Regions from separate parts of the Homo sapiens genome. Here region 1 is linked to region 2. The links are contacts of gene promoters, found by promoter capture Hi-C in blood cells and fetal thymus (Javierre and others, 2016). All regions are on one chromosome and are shown on one strand. The core of a region is centred on a gene start or on the middle of the fragment in contact, and the rest is flanking DNA. Distances in the headings are between cores, read along the strand shown.

Region 1 (6,720 bases), core at 926-3,425, 650 kb before region 2:
TTTTCCTAGAACAAAGTTGACACTTGCATTTGGCCCTCCAGCAGCAACCTGCTTGAAGTCTAAGAGTTGCTTTTCTCTTATCTCCAATCCTTTTCTTCAAGAGGTTAGACAGGCCATACATCATAGTGAATCTGCAGCCTGGGGCCTAAGGCAGTTTGTACACTTCCAGAAGAGGGAAGCCACTTCTAAAACAATTTCTTAAGGAGACTTCACCCAACCCAAGAAGCTGGGTGTTGCCTGGGCCATTTCCCTCCTCTGCCCTGAAGCAGTGGCCAGCTCAGAGAGAACCCTGTTGTTTTGTGTTTGTGTGATCTTTGGGTGGATGTGTGCACACCACCTGCTGAGCTTCGCTGTGTGCGTGCCTCACCGCCAGCCCTAATCTGCCAGAGCTTCCTGGCCTTGCAAATGTTTCTGTGGAGGGTCCATATTAGACTCCAGTGGTTCTTGCAGTCTATAAAGTCTCCTTGAAGGTGATTCCCTGTTCCTTGAAGACAACTGGCTGGGCTGGATGCCTGAATATAGCTCCCTGACTTCTCTAAAGGACAAACTTATTGCCCCTTTAGAGAAGTCATGAAGCTTTGCCGGCAAGCACAGAGTCTAGCTTAGAAAACACAACCAGGGCCAGGAGTGGTGTGGCTCATGCCTGCAAATCCAGCACTTTGGGAGGCCAAGGCTTAGAGGATCACTTGAGCCCAGGAGTTCAAGACCAGCATGGGTAATATAGTGAGAACTTGTCTCTACAAAAAATTTTAAAACTAGCCAGGCATGGTGGTACACACTGGTAGTCCCAGCCACTTGGGAGGCTGAGGTGGGAGGATCCTTTGAGCCTGGGAGGCAGAGGTTGCAGTGAGCTGAGATTGTGCCACTGCACTCCAGCCTGGGTAACAGAATGAGACCCTGTCTCAAAAGAAAAAAATAAAAAGACCACCAGGGCCCAGGCACAGAGCCTGGAGCGGGGAAGAGATAGCGGAGTTAACTGTGAATCCTGATTGCACTGACCACAGTCTAGTGAGCAACACATGTTTCCTTTTGAATATGAGTGGGAATCACCTTTAAAACTATATAACATTTGCATCTTCTCAAAAGCCCCAGGTCCTACTAAGATTGACTTAGGGCTACATATCAGGTCTCATTTTCAAGGAGGAAACACAGGGAAGCCTCAAGATGTGCAGAAGAGAGGGATGTGGGGAATACACCCAACCACTCCTCTGCTGAGGTTGGAACAGAACAAGGAAAGTCCCCGGACCTCCTCTCAGCAGGCAGAGAAGTGCGGGGCCTCCCTCTGGCAAAGCCTGCAGATGTGGCCAGCATACCTCCATACACACAGCTTCAGAGGCAAGGGTGTCCAAGGGAGTCTTAAGTTTTATCAGAAATAATGTCATTCGACTGACCAGTAAGGGGAGCTTTCAGAAAGTTATGGAAGAAGATGCGACAGACACAGGAAGGACTTCAGAAGCAAGAAGACAACTGGACTCTCTAAAATGCCACTCCGAAAGCGAAAAGGGAAGCCCACAGACCCACGAAGACGTGCTGGCCTCGTGTTGCCAGTTCTGTTTCTCTTTCAATACCCATCTCTTCAGATTGAAGGGCTTCTGCCTTCTTGCAGTTTTTGCTGACACGTTTACCCATTTACAAACCTTGGCTGCACCTAACTTTTTTTTTTTTTTTTTTTTTTTTTTTTTTTTAGCATTTAAGTTCCTAGCCAAAATACCCGGGCCTCTAGGAAAGCCCTTTTCTCTCCCTCTGAGATCTTTCCTTACCAACCCCAGCCTCCCAACCCGGGTGTCCTAGGTGGGACCAGGGACGATCCTTCGGAGTTGGTCAAGGAGGCGTCGGAACAGCAGGCATTTGCCCTTCTAGTTGGCAGCAGCGATGAGCCGCGTGCTCCATGCTCAGGGCAGGGGCAGCCGCCCGGGGAAGGGGCGCCCGATACACCGCTCACCGCTCAGCCCCGCGTCTCCCTCCGGGGTCCTTTACCTCCATGTCCTTCAGGTGCCGACTCTGCGGCAGACGCACCCGCTCGCCCGGGCCGGAGCTCACGATCCCCGCTGTCCCCTCCGCTCCCGGCCGTGGCCAGTTTCGGGCTGCGGCGGGCACAGGGCGAGTGGGCGGTGGCGCGCGCCCGGCTGCGCTCGGCTGCGGGACTGCCCCGGCCGCGGGGGCCCTGCGCGAGAGAACGAGGAAGGAGGAGGAGGGAGGGAGGGAGGAAGGGGAGGGGAGGGGAGGGTGGGGAGCGGGGAGGGAGGCCGACGATCAGGGTTTAAATTTAGACGCAAATCTAAACAGATACTGTCCCTCCCAGGGCAGGACTCAAGAGCGGGAGCCACGACTCCATGTGCCCAAACATGGGGATGGGCAGCCACCGGGCCCCTCTGTCTCGCGAAGTTTCTCAGGACCCTGGGCTTTGCCACGGTCTCAGTCCTTCTCAACGTCTCCCTCCCTTAATGCGCCTTCTTTCTTTTTCCTGTCCCTTCAAGAATTAGAGTGGTCCTTTAATTCTTTTTGTTTCCTCTCTTTTCGATTTCCTTCTTTTGTGTCCATCCTTCCTGCTTTCCTTCTTCCTCTCCCTCTTTTTAAAATTGCATTACTGTCATACCTGGTTTCCCTGCAGTTCTTGGGTGGAGTTCGAGGACCCTCCCTGGTGGAAGGCGTTTGTGTTCTACCAAAAGAGGAGCCCTTCTGACCGAGGCTTCAGAGCTCAGCGTGGCGCCGACGGGACCACCTTTCCCTTCTCACCTCTTTTCCTCTCCACCTTCCAGGAAACCACTATCTATCCATCTATCCATCTATCTTCTGTATACGAGTAGAAGGAGGAGGAGGAGGAGGAAAATCAGGAATCCACGCAAAGTTTTCCAAGCTCCCTGAAGTGGTAAATCTTTTCTTCAAACCTTGCTTTGACTGATGCATTCGGTTTTGTGGGAATTTTGGCTCCCACAAGCTGCTTGCTAAAGGGCCTCGTCTCCATTCCTGTTAAATATAGCAAAGGGCAAGATGCTCAACATCTGATTCCCATAGGGCCCAGCATAGCAACCTTCCTTTAGGGCCATCCCGGCTGGGCAGCAGAGACCGCATGGGAGGGATTCGGGGACTGGAATCTGCACCAGGGTCACTCCCTGCTACCCGGATCCCGGCCCCCTTCAGACCCTTCGGCAGAGAGAAACAGGAAAATGCCTTGAGAGACCTGTGAGTGCCAGGGTATTGGCTGGGTATATGACGCCTCTGGGTTATCCCACAGCATTCTCACCCGCCCAACCCCAGCTCAACCAGGGGAGGGGAGCCCCATCAGAGGTGGGCAATGGGACAGGTGATGGTGAGCACTGTGAAGAGACATGTGGAGAAACAGTAGAGAAAAAAGGCTGAGAGTCTGCTCCTGCTACAAAGACTACCCTGATTCTGGTTATCCCGGCACCATCTTTGCACTTTCAGGCACTTAGATTGCTGCTTTGGGTACCAGTCTTAGAAATATGGCCTCCTTCCTGTCCTAGAACTTTCTAAGGCCCAACTTTCTAAAACACTGGCAGCCCTAATGCCAGAGTGGCTTCTAGTTCTTTAGCTTAGCTAAGCATAGAGGAAGACGCCTGGTTTTAGGAACAGACAGATTGAGGGCTGAATTCCAGCTCTGCTACTTTCTAGTTGTATTTTTTAGACAAGTCACTTAACTGCTCTGATTCTCATTTTCCTCACCTATACAATGTAGTAGGCACTCTGCAAAAAGTGGCTGTTTTTATCATGCTTAGCCCCATGTACAAGCTTCAGATGAATAAGAGCCTGATATTTCTTTTATTTAGAGACAGGCACTCGGGGACCCAGTGAAAAGAGCCCTCACTCCCAGGAATTAATAGTGAGGCCCCTCCCAGTCCAGCCACATGGCTGCTCAGGTGAAGACTCGAGAGCAGAGTCGGCAGTAAGGAAGGGTATTTACTGGTAACCTGCAAGGCACACTTTTGCTCGTGCTTCTTTCCTTTCTTTTTAAAGGTGCAGGACGTAGTGATGACTGCATAGTCTACTATCAGGTCTTCTAACTCTGCTCCACAGGGCCTTTTCCTTTCTCCCTCTACCTAGTCCTCCTTTGTGCTCAGAATGGGGCTGCCCCAGCACAGGTTTCTGGCTTCACAAACAGGAGGGCGGAAGTGCTTACCCAGAGGAAACCGTTAGGCCTAGATAACATCAGTCACCCAAGGTGACTTGCAGCTGCTCCCCACGCCCTGCTTAGGCCTCTCTTGGCTGAGAACAGATGACCACAAAGCAAACAAGCTTGGCCTCCACCATGCTCCTGGGTCCCCAGTGCAGAGTTTAATGCTGCTCCAGAGCTATTTGGGCCCCAGACTGGGACTTCTCCTGAGGGAGGGGGTGGAAAACGGGGAGGGAGGGACCAAGAGGTAGCCCCGAGCTGTGTTTAGGCAGCCATGAGTAGGTGTGGTGTGTGTACTCCCCTTATCTTCTTCTTCTGTCCCTACAGAAGATCTCCAGGAGCCAGAATAGCAGTAACTCTGCTGATAAACACCCAGGTTTGCTGGGTTATCTGGGATTGTAACTGGCTGCTCTGGGGGCTGGGAGGAAACAACAGCCCAAGGGGAAGGGAAAGTGACTTTCCGAGGAGTTGGTTCCCCTCTCTCTCTGGAGGTCTGGCTGGCTAACACGGAACCACTTCCTTCAGTCTACCCTGGGCCTTCCCCTTCATATATCCTGATAGCCAGAACCAGCCACGCAATAAGTAGAGGTCATCAGGTAACTAACAATAAAAACACCAGGCTGGGCTCATGCCTGTAATCCCAGAACTTTGGGAGGTGAGGCAGGTGGATCACAAGGTCAGGAGTTAGGGACCAGCCTGGCCAACATAGTGAAACCCCATCTCTACTAAAAAAATACAAAAATTAGCTGGGCATGGTGGCGTGTGCCTGTAATCTCAGCTACGCGGGAGGCTGAGGCAGAAGAATTGCTTGAACCTGGGGGGCAGAGGTTGCAGTGAGCCAAATTCTTGCCACTGCACTCCAGCCTGGGTGACAGAGCCAAGACTCCGACAAAAAAAAAAAAAAAGGCCAGGTGCAGTAGCTCACGCCTATAATCCCAGCACTTTGGGAGGCCGAGGCAGGCGGATCACGAGGTCAGGAGTTTGAGACCAGCCTGGCCAACATGGCAAAACCCCGTCTCTACTAAAAATACAAAAATTAGCTGGGCGTGGTGGCATGTGCCTGTAATCCCAGCTACTTAGGAGGCTCAGGCAAGTGAATTGCTTGAACCCACAAGGCAGAGGTTGCAGTGAGCCGAGATCGTGCAGCTGCACTCCAGCCTGGGCAACAGAGTGAGACTCCATCTAAAAAAAAAAAAAAAAACAAAAAATAAAAAAACAAGAACACCAGAGATACAGCTCAGCCAAGGGAGGGGCGTATGGGGAGGTATGGGGAGGAGCCAGGCATATAGAAGGCCCTCAATAAATATTTAGTGAATGAGGCCAGGTGGTAGCTCACACCTGTAATCCCAGTGCTTTGGGAGGTGGAGGATGGTTTGAGCCCAGGAGTTCAAGGCTGCAGTGAGCACTCTATCCTTGGCAACAGAACAAGACCTTGTCTCTAAAAAAATAAAGTAAAATAAAAATAATTTGGCGAATATGTGCGTGAATGAATGAACAAGTGAAGCAAATTAGGATCTTTCCCTTTAAGTCAGAGACAGAGTCTTTCAGAGATGGGTCTCCCATGGAAATAAGGACCCAGTGGGAGAAAAGATCATGAAAGGCCACAATAAGTAGTAACTTAATTAGCTTTCAAGCAGAATTGCAAAGAGGTCTAATCAATCAGCTGTTTATAGTGGACACACTGTACTGCTGATCATCTATTTTAAAAATGAAGAGCAAGAAGCAAATATTCTTTTACGACTACAAATACTACCTACTATGGTATAGGTAAATGCATATATAGGTAAAAATTACCTCATATGGTATTACATGAAATATCATCTATATAATATAGTTATATTAATATAATATATAAATATATACAATATAAATATATAAAATAATATAAACATAATATATATAACATTTTACATAATACCATTCATTCCTAAATTCTGGGAATCTGGCAAAACAAAATATAATGAAACACACACACACACACACACAAATCCCAATTCATTTTGCCGTAACTGTCATTGAGGAATAAATTTGAATTACATTGAAATGAAAGCACAAAGTCTGAAGTGTTTTTATGTCTTTAAGAACCTGCAATGGAAAGTTTCCCAAAGGCAGATGAGGAAATTGAGGAGAAAGACAGCACAGCAGCAGTGGGACTGCAGCGGGAGGATATTGGAGTGGTGGAGAAGGCAGTCAGCATAGGCTGGGGACTTCATGAGGAGAGCTTTTGACTAGGCCTGTGGGGTAGCAGCCCTGCAGAGATCAGGAAATTGGCTACACAGAGAAATTGAGCAAATAGATATTTAGATACCTTGAGGACAACGGGAGCCAGATTCCTCACTGATGGGGAAGGGATGTACAAATATGCAAAGGAAAAGGGCTAGAATGAACCCTGGGATGTTGCATTGGAATAGGAGGTATTGGTGTGAGGTCATGGTTTTCAGTATACATAGATAGATATGGAAGTAAATGTAGATATAAATGTGTGTACATGCATACATATATTTCCTGGTTTGATGCACTGAGAAAGCCTGGGAGCGATGACACTCCAGTAACAATAGGTGCACATAAAGCCCAGATCTTGGTTTCTA
Region 2 (6,469 bases), core at 1,277-3,776:
TTCACGTTCCACTTCATATACACATCCAGGCTTCCTTCACTCAGTCCATCTCCCATTTTTCACATGTATAAACTTGCTCATATGTCCAAGTTTTGCATAAAATGCCATTTTTTTTGAGACAGGGTCTCACTCTGTCACCCAGGCTGGAGTCCAGTAGCGTGGTCACAGCTCACTGCAGCCTCAACCTCCCAGGTTCAAGTGGTCCTCCCATCTTAGCCTCCAGAGTAGCTGGGACTACAGGTATGTACAACCACGCCTGGCAATTTTTGTATTTTTTGTAGAGATGGGGTTTCACCATGTTACTCAGGCTGGTCAAATTCCTGAGCTCAAGCAATCCGCCCACCTCAGCTTCCCGAAGTGCTGAGATTACAGGTGTGAGCCACTGCACCTGGCCAAAATGCCACTGTTATGTGTGCTTAGATAATAAACACTATTCAAGCTCTTTTGTGCACTGTGACACACACACATAGATGCAGTAAATGGCACAGCATAATACAAATATATCATCTCAATCTTCTGGTGTAGATGTTCTTTTTGTGGTGCAAACAGTATATGCTTTAGAGTCAGATTCAAATCCTAGCTCTGCCACTTACTAGTTGCCTGATCTTAGAGAAGTTAGTTAAATGCTCTGGGCCTAAGTTCCCTCTTTAGGGTTAAATGAGAAGGTTTGTTAAACATGTAGAACTCTGCCTAGAACCTAAAGGAAACCCACAAGTGTTAGGTACCTCCTATATTTTTATTTTTCTGTATATGAAAGGAAATAGTCCTCAAATTTCTCTCATGCAGTACATAGCATGAAAAAATCATCCTGGCCAAAATAAGCAAAGAAAGAGTTTATGAAAGGATATTGGGTGGCTCAAAGAATTGCTGGGGAAGTGAAGAGCCAAGTGTAGAAGAGAGGCTAGAACCCAGAGAGCCTGCAAGACCACAGCCAAAAATCACACCTTGGAGCATCCTGGTGGCTTGACCTCTGCCACAGCTGATCATGTACACTGGATGCTGCTGCTGCCTCAGTGACAAAATCAATTCTCCACTGTCCTTGTTTCTTATATCCACCACTTGCTCCAGAATCAAAAAGCTCTGAGGGAGAGGTCAGCCTGGCTATGCCAGGGGCCCGGGCCTGCATTCCAGCTGGGATGGTCAGGGAGGTGGCTCTAGACTTTCTGGCTTCTGCAGTTGGAATTTCTCAGAATAAGAAGGGAATTGAGATGTCAGGCAGCCATAAAAGACAGCTGCCCAGGGTCTATTCTTCCCATTTCTCACATGTTCACATACATATTCTCCCTGTCTGTGTACACATTCACTCTTAGGTGTGGAGTCTGTCTGCTCCAGGAACTCCCCTCCAGCCTGGCACCACTCTGTTTTCAGATGCTACTTGAGACCTTTCTGCTATGTCTCTTTCCTCTGCCCAGAATGCCCTCGCCTGCCCCCTTTCCACCAGGGATCCTTGAATGGCTCAAATCTTGTGCTTTCTGCAAATGCCAGCTCAGATGTTACCCCTCCTTTATCGTGGTGCCCCCTCCCCACCCACGACTAACTTAGTCCTTCCTCTATGTTCCCAAGGCACTTTCTCTATGTCTCCATTATTGCACTTGCCCCGTTTTACTAGGAATAAGTATCATGTCTTTAATGGTCTGACCTTCCTCCCTTTCCTCGACCCAAGATGAGGCTCCTAAGGGCAGGAAGTCTATCTCATTCCACTTTGTAACCTTAGTTCTTAGCACCTAGTAGAGGCTTCATAAATATATTTCTTAAGCAAATCATACATTTCTCAGTTCTCTCTCAACACATACATTTTGAGACACAAGACAAATCCGTCTGACAAATAGGAATAATCCATGTGAATGCGTGCTGGAATCTATAAAGTGTTGGATGGATTTAAGCCGTTATAATCATTTATCTCATTCTGGTTTTACATATTTTCTGTTAAAGGGCCGGATGCCCTTATTCTACCTCATATTTTAACAGGAAAAAGTAATGACGCGAGATTCCCGCCTACCTTTTTCAATTCTGCGGAGCCTCTTGCCTGGTTCCTTGCACTGTCAAAAAGGAAACCAGACGGAGGGGCGGGGGTACCGCAGAAGCGAACATTCTAGCCTAGAGGACTTGCTAGTTAAGTCCTGTAAGAAGTTACGCCAAGTCCCCGCCGTCCCCCACCCTCGCCGCTGTCACTCTCTCCCCGTTCAGGTTGGCTGTGGCTGCCCGCAGACACAGGCTCCCCTGCTCGAGTCCCCAGCCAGCGTTCTCGCCCGGGTTCCCGAGCGCGGGCGTCCCTGGGAGAAGCCGCGATGGTCGCTCCCCGCTCGGCGCGGCCCGCGGGGCGGCCTCCCCCGCGCCTCTCGCTGCCTGCCACCCAGAGACCCCCTCTCTCCGCGTGGCCTCAATCACTCCACGCTGACCTTTGGGCCGCCGGGGGCCAGCACGTGACCGAGAAACTTTGGCAGTCGCGGCAGCGGGCGGCGGGGCGGAGGCGCGGGAGGCGGTGCGGCGGCCGAGCTCCCCCGCGCGGCGGGCTCTGCGGCGGGGAGACGCTCGCCCCGTGCCGCGCTGCCTGGGCATGCGGATGCGCCGCCGAGCGCTGCGCGGACCCCGGAAGCCCGCGGCAGCGCGCGCTCAGCCGGCGGCGCGATCCAGCCCCCGGCCCCGCCTGCGCGGCCGGCCCGGCGGGCGCTGCGCCCAGGGACGCCCGGTGCCCGCCGCTCCGCCGCCGCCCGCTGCCGCGGGGTGACAGCGATCCTTCTGTTCCAGCCATTTCCCACTTTCCTCACTCCGTAATTCGGCTGGGAAGTTGGGGAAGATGGATAGGGTCTTGCTGAGGTGGATTTCTCTCTTCTGGCTAACAGGTAAGAGTCCTTTTCAACAGAAACGAATAACTTTGTATATTCCTGTAGTGGTTCTGTTCTCACCGCGCCCCCCGCCCCCCCATTTTCCTCCTTACTGACCATGTTTAAAGCTGCTTAGCGGTCTGGTGGAAAGTGGGGGAGGGGGCAACGTGTGTGTTTGTGTATGTGTTTGTGTGTGTGTGTGTGAGAGAGAGAGAGAGAGAATGATGGGGGCGGCGGGGGAGAAGCCCAATGACAAGTGAGACGCATCTAGATGCAGGTGTTTGACTCATTGGCGCTGAGGTTGTTCTTTCGAATGCATTTCCCCTCCATAAAACGGTTCTCCTTCGGTCTTATCCTGAGTTTGTAATGCTGTGAGTCTTGTGAAAAGCCTGGCTGGAATAAAGGAAGCTCAGAGGGAGCTGATTAATTAAATGAACTGGTTTTCTGGAGGTGGAGGCTAGAGGACTGTCTCCTTAATTTCTTCCCTAGAGAAGGAGGGGGACCCAGGGCATTCTCTCTGTGGCTCTCTGGAGGGTGCAAGGAACTGGAGGTTGGGAAGAAGATGGGGATGGAACCTTCACTGGTTGTGGAGTTTAGAGCCTGGCTCTCTCTTACTTGGTATCATTTGGGGAGTGGTCCCAAATGATAATTAGAAAGCAGAAGAGCCTTTCTAATAGGTGCACTCTCCGCTCCCTAAAAGATAATTTGCAGAGAGATTTAGAGGCATTGGGCTTCTCCCCAGCATCAAAGTCACTGGTCTAGCTGGGTCCTCTGTGCCCTCCCCTCCTTTTTGGTGAACTTTCTCCCCATTCTGCTGGGGTCAGTAGATGCTCTTGTTCTTAACCTATTTCCCCACATGAGGATTCCGATTCCCATAGGGATACAGGGCCTTGGGGTGGCCAGCCCTGAGAGATTCACAAAGCAGCCCTGCTGAAGGGAGTAGGATGGGGGTGAGGAATGTCTGGATAGCTTGGACTGGGTCAGAGGCAACCATTCAAATCAAGGTGGAGGCAGAATGATGGAAGAAATGGAAAAAGGGATCAGAAAGGTGAGGACAGGATGGGGGTGGAAGGCAGGAGAGAAAAGGGACAATAGTACCACATGAGAAGTTTTGTCACCTCTAGCATCACCAGCCAGAAGATCTGGACAAAATCAAGGCACTAGGCAAAGGGGAACAAGCTTAAAATAGCTAAAACAAGTCATGTAAAGGGGGTAAAATACATTTAGCAAGAAAAGGCAAATACCCCATTTCCCTTAGCTTCAGAATAAGATTCTTCATTGCCTAAATATTTTTCCCATTTCAAATGAAATGCCCCTAACATTGCCGTTGCCCCACTGCTGGGTTTAGGCTGGGGGAGGCATCCTCAGCAGAGTTAGCCTCTTCTTTTGGCTGCTTTGAGTTCATCCCTCCCACATTATTCAGATATGAATCATCTCTAATTTCAGGGTTTGGCTGATCCATGCCACCCCGCTCCCCTGGCCTCCCAGTGCCTTCCACTCCCACCCTCACTGATTCTTCACATCCTTAATCTGCCTCTACTCTCGGTTATCAATATTCTCAGGGCACTTAGTCCTTGAGCCTGTATCACAACAGCACTGAAGTCAGCCAGGCATCGGGGGGGGGGGGGAGGGGTCCCTGAGTCAGAGGTGCTCTTTACAGACACGCTGGGGTCTGCCTAAAAGAAGTACTCTGGGGGTTTGCAGGGAGTGAGAGAAGAAGGGAAACATAGAGCTCTCTTTAGATGGCTCACAGCTTTTTATGAAATGGAATCATATCACTGGAGGGTACTACAGGAACTGTAGTTCAGCCCTCTCAGTTTATAGAGATGGAGTCCTAGAGAGGCAATATGCACATAGCACGTTCATGATTGATTAGGGACTAGATTCCAGTTCTCTCAAACTCCAGACCAGTCTCATTTGCCCTCTCCTAAGCTGCCTCTCTGGGCTTTTTGCTGGAGGGCTTTTTGTTTTATTTTTGTTTTGAGGGAGGTGATGGCTTTGTCTGTGCCTTCTGCCACCTGCACCTGGAGAGGCTGTTCTGCTTGGAATCAGGCAACAGGTTAGTTATCAGGACCAGCTCAGCTGTCAGATGGCTGGGGATTCTTTGCTCCAAAAGTGAGACTGACTCCTGGGATCCCATTGATCATCCTCTGCTCCCTGCTCCTGCTTTCTCCTCATCCCATCACTGCTGTCAGAGGTGTGGACAGACAAGCTGCCTCTCAGCCTCAGCAAAGTAGAGGAGCAAACAATGGCGGCTGGGGAGGGGAGGGAGGAGACAGAAGCAGACAAGGAGGAGATGAATTCAGACTCATTCTTCACAGAGAACCATGAGACGAAAGGTGAGAAATTTTAGTCCAGCCCAATCAATGAATTCTCTTTTGAGGGGGTGGTAGAAAGGAAGGGAGACAGGGAAGAACAGATTAAAAATGAGACAGAGAGCCAGGAAAAAAACCACATTCATTCTTCCTCTCCCTCCCTTTCTCTCCCCACCATCTCTCTCCCACTCCCTCTCTATTTCTCCTCCTCTCCCTTCTCCTCCTGTTTCTCTTTTTTAATGCAAGCTGAGCGATTTCTAATCAGCACTTCAGTTTTTTCCTCCAGGCTCTAGCAGCTTCTTCCTTGTCTTTCATTACTAAAATTCTGTATGTCTTCCTGTTATATATTTAGCCTTGTGATTCCTTATTGCCATTGTGATGTTGCTTCCTGTAATATATTGGTTTTGTTATTGTTGCTGTTGTTGTTGTTATTTTGAACAAAACAAAATGCTTACCAGCTGCTATTTTAGCAACAGGTGCCATCTAGCAATAAGACTTGAAGGAGGGTTCACTCTGTCTTTGTTCCTGAATATGGGTGGTGTTTTATCCTTTCCTGGCAGCAGAGGCTGTGAGAAACGCTGGAGCTGTGTCGACACTCTGGGAACACACTCCTGGAGCAAGCGATGTGTTTTCCTGGAGGCTTCTTTGGGTATCTCTATGACAAAGATTGCTTGATGAATTAGCATTTCTTTTTCTTTTCTTTTTTTTTTTTGAGAGACAGAGTCTCACTCTGTCACCCAGGCCAGAGTGCATTGGCACCATCTCGGCTCACTGCAACCTCTGCCTCCTGGGTTCAAGCAATTCTTGTGCCTCAGCCTCCCAAGTAGCTGGGATTATAGGCACGCGCCACCACACCTGGCTAATTTTTGTATTTTTAGTAGAGTTGGGGTTTCACCATGTTGGCTACGTGGGTCTCAAACTCCCAACCCCAGGTGATATGCCCTCCTTGGCCTTCCAAAGTGCTGGGATTACAGATGTGAGCCACCATGCCCGGCCCTTTATTAGCATTTCTTTTGATTTCACTTGTTTGTCTATTCTACAAGCACATATTAAATTCCTGTGATTTCTAAGTATTATACTAAGTGCTGAGAATGAGGCACTAAAAGACATAGTCCTTGCCCTCAAAGCGTTGTCAGTCTAGTCAGTGATTCAAATAAGTTTTCAGCTATGCACAGTTGTTCATGCCTGTAATCCCAGCACTTTGGGAAGCTGAGGCAGGTGGATCTCTTTGAGCCCAGGAGTTTGAGACCAACCTGGACAACACAGTGAAACCTCATCTCTACAAAAAATACAAAAAAATTAGCCGGGCACGATGGCTTGCACCTGTAG

What was found. The method cuts DNA at HindIII sites, captures the fragments that hold promoters and counts their contacts. A CHiCAGO score of 5 or more calls a contact.
Region 1: the fragment with the promoter of RCSD1 here is called in contact with the fragment with the promoter of ILDR2 in region 2 in 4 of 17 cell types (fetal thymus, activated CD4 T cells, naive CD4 T cells and 1 more); the score reaches 12.6 in fetal thymus.

Annotation. Positions count from the first base shown.
Region 1 is chr1:167,625,687-167,632,406 of GRCh38, reverse strand. RCSD1 (RCSD domain containing 1) reads right to left here and starts at 2,175. Exons shown (of 7, transcript NM_052862.4): 1 at 1,978-2,175. The coding sequence starts at 1,983. RefSeq lists enhancers at 1,389-1,458, 3,977-4,026, 4,037-4,206, 4,287-4,346 and silencers at 1,999-2,218, 2,239-2,318. The HindIII fragment of the contact is 3,174 bases long and covers 579-3,752 here.
Region 2 is chr1:166,971,597-166,978,065 of GRCh38, reverse strand. ILDR2 (immunoglobulin like domain containing receptor 2) reads left to right here and starts at 2,526. Exons shown (of 10, transcript NM_199351.3): 1 at 2,526-2,843. The coding sequence starts at 2,798. LOC124904449 (a long non-coding RNA gene) reads right to left here. Exons shown (of 3, transcript XR_007066714.1): 3 at 5,319-5,795. It also overlaps a transcript of MAEL not described here. RefSeq lists silencers at 2,107-2,156, 2,277-2,566, 2,627-2,676. The HindIII fragment of the contact is 7,595 bases long and covers 1-4,006 here.